2 separate regions of the Homo sapiens genome follow, and region 1 is linked to region 2. Evidence: promoter capture Hi-C in 16 types of primary human blood cells and fetal thymus (Javierre and others, 2016). All regions are on one chromosome and are shown on one strand. The core of a region is centred on a gene start or on the middle of the fragment in contact, and the rest is flanking DNA. Distances in the headings are between cores, read along the strand shown. Region 1 has its middle 22 kb from the start of TCHHL1. Region 2 holds the start of FLG2 (filaggrin 2).

The links. The method cuts DNA at HindIII sites, captures the fragments that hold promoters and counts their contacts. A CHiCAGO score of 5 or more calls a contact.
Region 1: a fragment that was not itself captured here is called in contact with the fragment with the promoter of FLG2 in region 2 in 4 of 17 cell types (total CD4 T cells, naive CD8 T cells, neutrophils and 1 more); the score reaches 6.2 in total CD4 T cells.

The regions. Positions count from the first base shown.
Region 1 is chr1:152,064,177-152,069,547 of GRCh38, reverse strand. No RefSeq gene overlaps it. Among named protein-coding and RNA genes, the nearest start is that of TCHHL1, 22 kb to the left of the region's middle. The HindIII fragment of the contact is 3,722 bases long and covers 1,183-4,904 here.
Region 2 is chr1:152,358,166-152,363,489 of GRCh38, reverse strand. FLG2 (filaggrin 2) reads left to right here and starts at 3,484. Exons shown (of 3, transcript NM_001014342.3): 1 at 3,484-3,534; 2 at 4,584-4,743. The coding sequence starts at 4,606. All of the region lies in intron 7 of CCDST (cervical cancer associated DHX9 suppressive transcript), which reads right to left. The HindIII fragment of the contact is 5,522 bases long and covers 471-5,324 here.

The sequences.
Region 1 (5,371 bases), core at 1,794-4,293, 290 kb after region 2:
TGGGAATTATTTTTAGTATCATAAAGGATTATGTTAGAGTACATCCACCCATACATAATTTCTTCAGAAACAAAGAAACTATTTATAAGCTGGTGAAATTGAAAATGGTTTTTAACTTTCAAGCAGTGACGTTTCAACAGACCGCCAACTCTGCAGCCCACAGATCCTCTCCTGTGTCCAACATTTTGCTGCTATCACCATCAAATACGAAAAGTTGTTGTCTCTCACACAGGGCAAACAACTTATGCTTTGACAGCAGATAGACACAGGGAGATGGGTCGTGAGGCACAGAACCACCCGCCGAAGGAATAGGCCAGGTGGGGATTAAGACAGACTCATGTTTGTGTTTTACATCACAGTATAGCAAGCATCTAATGCAACTGGGCACTTCAGCCTCAACATATCCAAATAAAATGTGCAATTACAGACAGTGAAAGAGATCTTGTTCATGACTAAAATGGCTCAGGTTAAGAACTCATTTTACTTGCAGGAGATGAGGCCACTATTGGTTCACAAGGTTTTTCTTGAGAGTACTTCAGCACACTGTCAAGACATCCTGGTGGCACTATGGCCCCACAGGGATGTGAGAAGTAGCTGTCCCTCAGGAGCCAGGCTGCAGACACAGAACAAATGCAAAATAGGGGTGGCATTCAAGGAAATGCTGAGTTTAAAAGCCCCGCTTAGAGGAGAAACAGGTGGAATGGGGTTTGGTTGGCAATGATTCAGTCCATTATACACCAAGGGTGTTGTCTGCAAAAGATGTCAGGTTAAAGGGTGTAATTAAAACCCCTATATAAGCACCAGGATCCCCAAGCCCATTATTCCATGAGCTCTCAGGCCTGAGTCCTCCATTTCTCTTGGCAATTTAAGTAAGTTCTTTAAAAAAATTATATTTCTGTTTTTGTAAATGTTTTCCTTCCTTAGTATTCTTACATAGACAATTAGACTGCGCAGATATAGCTTTGGCTTTCTGGAAAATTCTATGAAAGTTCTAACACTGACAAGTTGTAATTAGAATGACAGGAGCAATACCCTAGTGGACTTTGCCCATGTTTTAAAAGTACTGCTCTATAATCTTCAAGAATGGCATCATCTAAGAAGAGCTCCTGTCTTAGTCCCCAGCCACCGCTACGTGTAAATTATCAGACTGTACTGAGATAACTGCATCTCCTCCTCCAAGCTTTGAATTCCTTGAGGAAAGGAGCTATTTCTTATTCATCTCCCATTCCCAGAACACAACACAGCATTGGCACAAAGGAAATTAAGAAATGCTTGCTAAGTCAGTTAATTCATTATTATTGCCATTGCAAAACTTTCTAGCTGCAAAGGATCTCAGAGGTCAGGTGGCCAGTAGTTCTTGCGGCTGCAAAGGAATCAGTGGGGAGCTTTTTAAATGCAGAGTCTAGGACTCTACCCCAGAGCTATTGAGCCACTCTCTCTGGAGGTGGGGCCTGGAGTCTTTATTTCTTTAAAGCTCCTCCTGGTGACTCTATAGTACAGCAAAGTTTGGGAACCACAGACCTATTCCAACATATCACTCAAATCAGGGTTCACTCATTTGTTTCTGCACCCATTCATCAGGCATTTATTGAACTTCTACTATATTTGAGGCACTAGGATAAATAAAAAATAGATAAGACATGGTCCTGGCCCTCAAAGAAAAATCTCTAAAGGAGTCAGATAAACAATCAAATAAGCCGGATCTTTACACTGTAATTTACCTCCAAGAGATGAAGAAAGAAGGGATGATAGAGATTCAGAAAAATTAAACAAGTTGGGTATTCCTTGGTGCATTCCAGGTGCACTCCAGTTGGCAAAACAAGATGCTTCCCTATCTTCTGAGGAGCAGCATCAGTATCATCGACATTTTCCACAAGCACGCAGAGTGATGGAGACTGGCAGAGGCTGAACAAGACAAAACTCAAGACACTTCTCAGACAAGAGTTTGGAATGGCCTTGGAGGTAAGAAGGACAGGGGCTCACTCCTTGCACATTTACTGTGTTACTTGGAACTGTCTTCTTGGCTCCAGTGACACTACCCTCTCCTAGGTTTCCTCTTATGTCTCCAGCTGTTTCCTCTCAGAGTCATTTCAAGTTCCTCTTCCTCTGCTCATCACTTAAGGGTTGATATGCTCTGGAATTCTCTTCTCACTTTATGCATGTCTCCTGGGGATTTCATAGACTCTGCTTGCCTCAACCACTGTATGCTGAAACCACTCTCTGTATGCTGAAACTTTCAGTCAACTTATCAACCAGATCACTTTCCTGAGCTTCAGACCCATGGAGCATCTCCATCAGATATGGCACAAGCATTTCAAATTCAACCTGTACAAACCTCATCTTCCTTTTACATCCTATATTCAAACAAATACAGCAGCACTAGCCATTCATTTGTCCAAGTCAATAACTTGGGTGCTAGCCTTGACACCTCCATCTATTTTACTTCTCACATCTAATCTCATCACCAAGCCCTCCTGATTCTGACTTCTAAATAAATATCTCTCAGACCTGGCCACTTCTCTCCTCAACCACTGCCCCTGAAGTGTTCTAGGCCACCAGTATCTCTGACTTGAATTGTTGCAATAACCTCCTAATTGGTCTCTTCCCCTCTATTCTTGTCCCTCCCTATCAATACTATCCACCATCTATTACCTACATGCAGCCAAAGTGACCCTATTTAGCTATTTGTCATATAGGCTCCCATTTCACCCCTGTGGCACTTATTACAGTGTGTTATAATTACCTGTTTACTTGTCTATGAAGGCAGAGACCATGTCCTTTTGTGCTTTTATTTGTTTCTCTAGCCTGGGATCATTCCTGTCATATATCTATTAATTCATTTATGCAACTGATATTTACTTAGCATCACATATGTTCCAGGTAACTTTGTAGGCTCTGGGAAGAGTAGCCAGCAAAATAGACATGGTTCCTGCCTTCAAAAAACTTATAGACAATAAACCAAGTAAACATAACAATATATAGTTAAAAACAATATGGCCAGGCATGGTGGCTCATGCCTGTAATCCTAGCACTTTGGGAGGCCAAAGCGGGTGGATCACTTGAGGTCAGGATTTGGAGACCAGCCTGGCCAACATGGTGAAACCCCATCTCTACTAAAAATACAAAAATCTTAGCGAGGCATGGTGGTGGACGCCTGTAGTCCCAGCTACTCGGGAGGCTGAGGCAGGAGAATGGCATGAACCCAGGAGGCGGAGCTTGCAGTGAGCCGAGATCATGCCACTGCACTCCAGCCTGGGTGACAGAGCGAGACTCCATCTCAAAAAAAAAAAAAAAAAAAACCAGCCAGGAGTGGTGACACGTACCTATAGTCCCAGTTACTCTGGAGGCCAACGTAGGAGAATCACTTGAACCCGGGAGATGGAGGTTGCAGTGAGCAAGATCACGTCACTGCATTGCAGCCTGGGCAACAGAGCGAGACTCCATCTGAAAAAAATAAAAACAAAAAAAACAAACAAAACCAATAATAAGAGTTATGTTCTGCTAGGAAGTCAGAGGAGATTCTTTAAGGAAATTACATTTAAGTCAAGACTTGAAGGACGTGTAGGAGTTGACTAGATGAAGAATAGGAAGTGTTCCAGGAAAAAAAAAAAAAGGAGTACTAATAAAGTCCTTGAGTAAGGAAATAGCTTTTGTGCTCAAGGAACTGGAAGTTCGGTGTGGCTGGGCAGAAAGAATGGCAGGAGATGAAAGTGGAGAGCCAGGCAGGGACTAAATCATGCGGAGCTTTTTCAACCATGTTAAGTAATTTATATATGTAATAGGAAGGCATTAAAGAGTTCTGAGCAGAGGAATAATTAAATCTAAATCACAAATTTTTAAATTCACTTGGTGTTTGGATGGGCAAATTTTTAAATTCACTTGCTGTTTGGATGGGCAAAAGAAGAAGCAAAGAAACCACTTAGAACACTACACACTACTGCAGAGCCAGGCATGGTGGCTTGCACCTGTAATTCCAGCTACTTGGGAAGTTGGGGCAGAAGGATCGCTTGAGCCCAGGAGTTTGAGGCTATAGTGAGCTATGATCATGCCACTGCACTCCAGTCTGGGTGACAGAGTAAGACCCTGACTCAAAAAAAAAAAAAAAAAAAGGGCTACTGCAACAGTATTGGCAAAAGATGATGGTAGCTTGGATTGAGGAAGTCCAAACAATGGAGAAGGAAAGAAGTGGATGGATTGACAGTACATTTTGGAGATAGAAACAAAAGGCTTTATTATGGACTGGACTGTAGGGGTAAATGAGAGGAAAGAATCAAATACAGCTACCATGCTTCTGGCTTGAGAAACTGGAAGGACGGTGGTGCCATTTACTGAGATGGAGTGGACTTGATGAGAAATAGACATAAGAAGAAAATCAAGAGTTGGACATGTTGAATTTCTTCTACCTGTGATATATCACAGAAAAGATGTCACCAAAGCAGTTAGACATACATGTCTGGAACTCAGAAGAGAGATCTGGCTTGCACAAAGACAAAAATCTGATTATCATCAGCTAATTGATGGTATGAAGCTACGGGAATAGATGAGAATGTAAAAACATAGGATAGGAAGAGTGTCCTATACTAAATCCTGAGTAACTCCAACATTTAGAGGCTAAGTAGAAAAGGTGAAACGAGGATAGAAAATGAAAACATGGGGCCAAAGATATAGAATGAAAACCAGGAGAGTGGGATGTCATGAAATACAAGATAAGAAAATGTTTCGAAAGGAAGGATTAGTCAGTTGTGTCAACTGAGGTCCAGTAAAGAAAAGATTGTGTCCACTGTATTTGGTACCAAGGAAACCACTTGGTGTGGTGGTGAATATGGATGCCAAAATGACACATATTAAGGGAGAATGAAGAGTAAGGAAGCGGAGACATTTACAGATAACTCTTTCAAGAAGCTTGGCAATAAATGGTGAGAAGAGATATTGGCTGGTAGAAAGAAAGAGATGTGAGATGTGAGAATGTGGTGCACAGGACTTTTTTTTTTTTTTTTTTTTTGAGATGGAGTCTTGCTCTGTCACCCAGGCTGGAGTGTAGTGGCATGATCTCCGTTCACTGCAACTTCTGCCTCCCGGGTTCAAGAGATTCTCCTGCATCAGCCTGCTGAGTAGCTGGGATTACAGGCACCTGCCACCACGCCTGGCTAATTTTTTAATTTTTAGGAGATATGAGGTTTCACCATGTTGGCCAGGCTGGTCTTGAACTCCTGACCTCAGGTGATCCACCTGCCTCCACAGCCTCCCAAAGTGCTAGGATTACAGGCATGAACCACTGTGCCCAGACCACAGGAAATTTTTTAAAGTATGATAGCTAATAAAGCATACTGTTTCTCTGTCTGGAATGATCCAGTAGAGACTAAAGCATCAA
Region 2 (5,324 bases), core at 2,235-4,734:
CTTATGATAGACAAAGACCCACTTGGGCCCTAAGGCAAGTTCTTAATTTGAACATGACAAGAAGTAAAACAGACTATTTTAACTTGGAGAACCTCCACCACCTTAAATAGGATGAAAAAAAATTAGCACGCATGGTGGCACGTATCTATAGTCCTACCTACTTGGGAGGCTGAGGCAGAAGGATCACTTGAGCCTGGGAAATCGAGGCTGTGTTGAGTCATGATCATACCACTGCACTCCAGCCTGGGTGACAAAGTGATATGCTGCCTCAAAATAAATAAATAAATAAATAAAAAATTAAAAAAATAAAATTAAAATTAAAAAAAGGATGAGATGTAGAAACAAAACTTATCTGGCATGCAGTGGAAAAGCCAAAATCTGGAACTTTCACAGGTCCAATTAAAGTTACTTTTAACATTCTAAGGTATAGCTTCCTCTTCAAGAATCCAGTGGCCAACGGTGCATAAGCTTCACCAAATGGGCCTAAAATCAAAGAGTCTGGTAGTGCCTAGAGCCTGAGCAATGTAGACATGGAATGAGCAGAAGGTGATGAGATGAGTAGAACAAGGCAGGAAGGAGGCCCAGACACAGAGAAATGGTGTAACTGACTGTGCCCTACCTCTGGACTTCAGGCCTCTGCTTTGTTGAGCTAAATAATCTTTCAGAACCCAGGAGGGCAAAAGTTTCTGCAGGTATCAACTCAATTCTTAAAACCAGCACTTGGATTTCTTTCCAAAGTGTGCATAGGTGTCTGTGAAATGGGGACAATAATTGTTCTCCAAAATCGCAGCTGAAACGACCTGCTATCTGTCCACTTGGACCCTGATACTAATAACACCTATGATTATTACAGAGGGTAAACTAAGGCATTAAGAAGTGAGGAAACTCACTTAAGGACATAGACATCATAAGAACAATAACTCAATTGCACATACTCTGTACACACACACACACACACAACGAACTGTATACTTTAACCCATTTCCCAATTAGGGAAAAAAAGTGCAGCTCACTGCCAGCACAGTATTCTGGGGGCAAACACAAAACAGATTAAAAGGTTGAAATTTATGATATGTGAATTATATCCCAAAAAAGGTGGTTTATTTTCAGAACCATGACTTACCTTCTAGGCAATGCTTTTGACAGAGGTGTAGTATTTCTACCTTTAAAAGCCACTAGTAAGTGGCTTCTAACTCATTTTTATCAAACATTATCAAGTACTTTCTTTGTGTAAAATGCTGTGATAGATTGTATGAAATATTTATCAAAATAAGTTTGCAGTAATTATATAGTGTACTAAGAATGTATTATATGCCAGGCAGGTACTAAGCAATTTCATATGTTAAGTAATTGCCACCTGTTAGGTAAGTGTTATTGTTCCCATTCTATAATTTGGGAGACTGAGGCTGAGAAGATTAGATAATTGTACAAGAAATGCAGTAAGAGGCAAAATTGAGATTAGAACTTAGGTCTTTCTGACTATAATTTTATCCATTATGCTAAGCAAGTAGAAGAGGAAGAGAGACCTAAATGCAAAGAATACAAAAGACTGAATAATGGAGTTCTGAACTATGGAGGAGTTTCAGAGTTCTCAACTATAATGCTGGAGTGACAGTGCAAAAATGCTTTAAAATTCTGTCTCAGTGTGGAGTCTGGGGCCTGAAAGTCTTTCTGACACAGCAGCCATCTTAACAAAAATGCACTTCCAAAAGATGCATATGATTGAAAATGACCATAGTATCCAACAGCAACCATAACTTTCTGTGTGGTTGTTTTGGTCTAGGATTCCTTGGCTATGTGAGCAATTGACATATTTCAAGGGCCTATTCATTAACATTTTATGAACAGACACTCATTCTTAGTGTTTACCAAGCTCTAGGTGCTGCCTAGATGGTGGAATGAATAAGATATGATGACTGGCCCAAAGCAATGCCCAGATAGGAGTTTATTGACTCCATATATGTAGAATATATATGGTTAAGTGCTAGGCTTTAGCATCGGCTAGCATGTGTATCTGTTCTAGTGCTGCTACTAACTAGCTGCGATTTGTAACAAATGTTTACATTGCTCTATGCTTTTATTACCTTATCTATAAAATGGGGTTATTTTGAGGAATAAATAGATAAGCATGTAAACCTACCATGTATAGAAGATAGTAAGCACTTAGCACTTAATGGTAGCTGCTATCCTCCTCATCATCATCATTATCACCTGGTAGCAAAGTACAGCAGAATTGGCTCTCCATGCTTAAGACTTACAGCTCTCTGATTATTTTTGTTACCCTCAAGTGTATTTGATATACTTTCTGTACATAAGTGAACATTTTCCCAAGGGTCCAGGCCCTAAACATGCCAGACTACCAGTGGATCGCAGAGTGCTGGAAGAAAGCTCACTCTAAATTCACCCTGAACATATCTGAAAACATTATTTTTATATATAGCCAATTACACTTTTCTAGCCTAGAAATGAGCCTTCACAAGGTCAGAGAATGTTTCCTCTCTTCCTAACAGCACTCTGTATGTTACTTTTTTATATTATTTGCGTTTGAGTGGGCCTTACACTCCTAAAATGGTGCATAATTTTTGCATGATAGTTATATATGATAAATACACAGAGGTAAGTTAGTATAATGGTAAACAGCAATTGCAATAAGGTAGATACAGGTTCAACTTCTGGTTTCTCTGCCTACTAGCTATGACCTTGGAGAAGATCCTTATGCTTCCAGAACCTGTCTCTATAAAATGGGATAATAAATACATATCTCGTATGAAGGTTGTGAAGATTAAATGAGGTGATAAGATCTAGTATTTGGTAACATAATATGGTAACTATAGTTAACTATTTATTGTATATTTTTAAATAACTAAAATAGTAGAATTAGAATGTTCCTACTACAAAGAAATGCTTGAGGTGCTGGATACCCCAATTACTGTAATTTGATCATTACACATGGTATGCCCATATCAAAACATCACATGTACCCAACAATTATATACAACTATGTACCCATAACTAAAAGTGCAGATTTTTTAAAGATTGAGATGGTTTGTTTAAAGTATTTAGCACATAGTAAATTCTCAATAAATGTCACTTTTTATTATTACAAAAAAGACATGAATTAGATGAACCTAGTGGCTCAGGTTCATTTTCAATTAAATAAGCATTTATTGTGCACCTTCCAAGTATCTTACACTCTGCTACTTTCTGTGGGTACTAGTTAAAAGAAATGTATAACATGAGTCCTCTAAAACAAAGTCTGTGCTTTTCACATGTATATGACCCTGAAAAAAAAGGTATCTTGCAACCATGTCCTCGTACTGGAAGGTGGGGCTGGTACTAGCCTTTCTGCAATCATCTGTAGATAACAATGTGAAGGAGGAAGGTAAATATGTAGAGGTGGAGTTAGGTTTGATGGAAAATGAATCACCTCATTCACTATAATCACTATAAGCTATATAAGGGTCATTATCCCAATCCATCGTCACCCTGCAAGCTGCATCAGGCTTTATCCTACTTGTTCCTTTGGTGAACCAGGTGAGAGAAAATTCATCCAGCTACATTTATGAATATTTGGTGTTGTCCATAGTAGAAGTCTAGGGATATAAGCTAAGGCAGAGTTCATGTATATTTTGCCTTTCTTTTCTTTTTTGTTTCTTTCTTTCATTTTCTTTTCTTTTTGTTTGCTTATTTGTTTGGTTAGTTTAGTTTATTCTGGGGCCTTTTTGTAGTTAAGTTCATTTTTATGGAGAAGAATAATGCAAGTAAAAGTTCACCTTCCTCTAGGCCATTCCACAGTCTGTTCCGAGTCTTTTTCCATGCCCTCTTTTCTGGGCTGTCCAGCTCAAACTGGGAGGCAGCTGGGTCTGTTGCAGAGTCCCTTCCTTATTCAGTGTTGGTTCCCAGAGCTCCAAGATCTAATTATCCACTAGTTAAACTGCTGCCTGCATTGCTGAGCTCTTCTTCTTGATTAATTAAAGAAAACAGTGTTTGGTCAAGTGCTTGACATTAAGAGAGTTCCTAAGCTCTACTGAGTTCTACTGTCTCATGCCTATGAAACACCAAGCTATTTTGAGCCCCTTTGCCCATTTTTAATTTGCTGAAGGCCTTAAGGGTCCAGTTTAGCTTCTGGTGCCCAGAGGATAAACAGATGTGCATGGTGGAAGGTCTGTCACTTTTGACTCAAGAAAAGCAGTGAAACTAGAAAGAGAGATTGAGGCAATGGTGTCTGGCTGGTTCTGGAAATTTTGGAAGCCTTAGAACAACACCCAGAATGCCAACACACTCAAAGTGTAGAGATACTATGTAGAGACTATACTTACCCATGACAGGAAATATAGAGACTTGAGGTCTATTCTCAGTTGAACCAGTAACATGCCAAGACTTGATCACAGAAAAGTAACTCAAAGTTAACAAAGTTAATTTTCATTGTGTTAAACGGGGTTGTATCATCCCTGGCCCATTCTTACGTTTTGAGATTTAAAAAACAAGAGGTTAAAAAAATCATGCTGGTTATTATTAAAATGAAAATTGCTGATAAAAGGAGAGAATATGAATAATAGGGTTCTTTGTTTTTCTGTGTCCAGGTTCACTTAAACTTGCAAAAAGATGACCGACCTCTTGAGAAGTGTTGTCACCGTAATTGATGTTTTCTACAAATACACCAAGCAAGATGGGGAGTGTGGCACACTGAGCAAGGGTGAACTAAAGGAACTTCTGGAGAAAGAGCTTCATCCAGTTCTGAAGGTGAGAGCCATGTGCCAGAACTGAAGGCTGCTGGAGTCCTGTACAAGCTCTGTTGTATGACCCAGATCAGCTAAAAAGTGCACAGCCCCAGTGAACTCTAAGCAAACTCTATGAGTGGTATTTTGGGGATGCCAGAAAGTCTGTTAAAGCAGCAGATATTTTAAAGAAAGTGAATGTTTCGTCCTCACTTTTCCACCTATGCACTCCTACCTCATAGACTCTCAGACTTTCTCATACACCCAGGCTTTTCCTTAGAAAAAGCAGAAAATAAAATTATACTAGGACACGAATTAATAAATTATCCTATCAAATGGAAAAAAAAGTATAGAAAGGGAAATCATCTACATAGGGAGTTGACAAAATAGCCATGATTAAGAATCAAAAATAAAATGCCAGCATTTTATTCCATCTACTTAAAAAGGACTCAGCTAGGCGCGGTGGCTCATGCCTGTAATCCCAGCACTTTGGGAGGCCGAAGTGGGTGAATCACAAGGTAAGGAGATCAAGACCATCCTGGCTAATACGGTGAAACCCCATCTCTACTAAAAATACAAAAAATTAGCCGGGCGTGGTTGCATGCC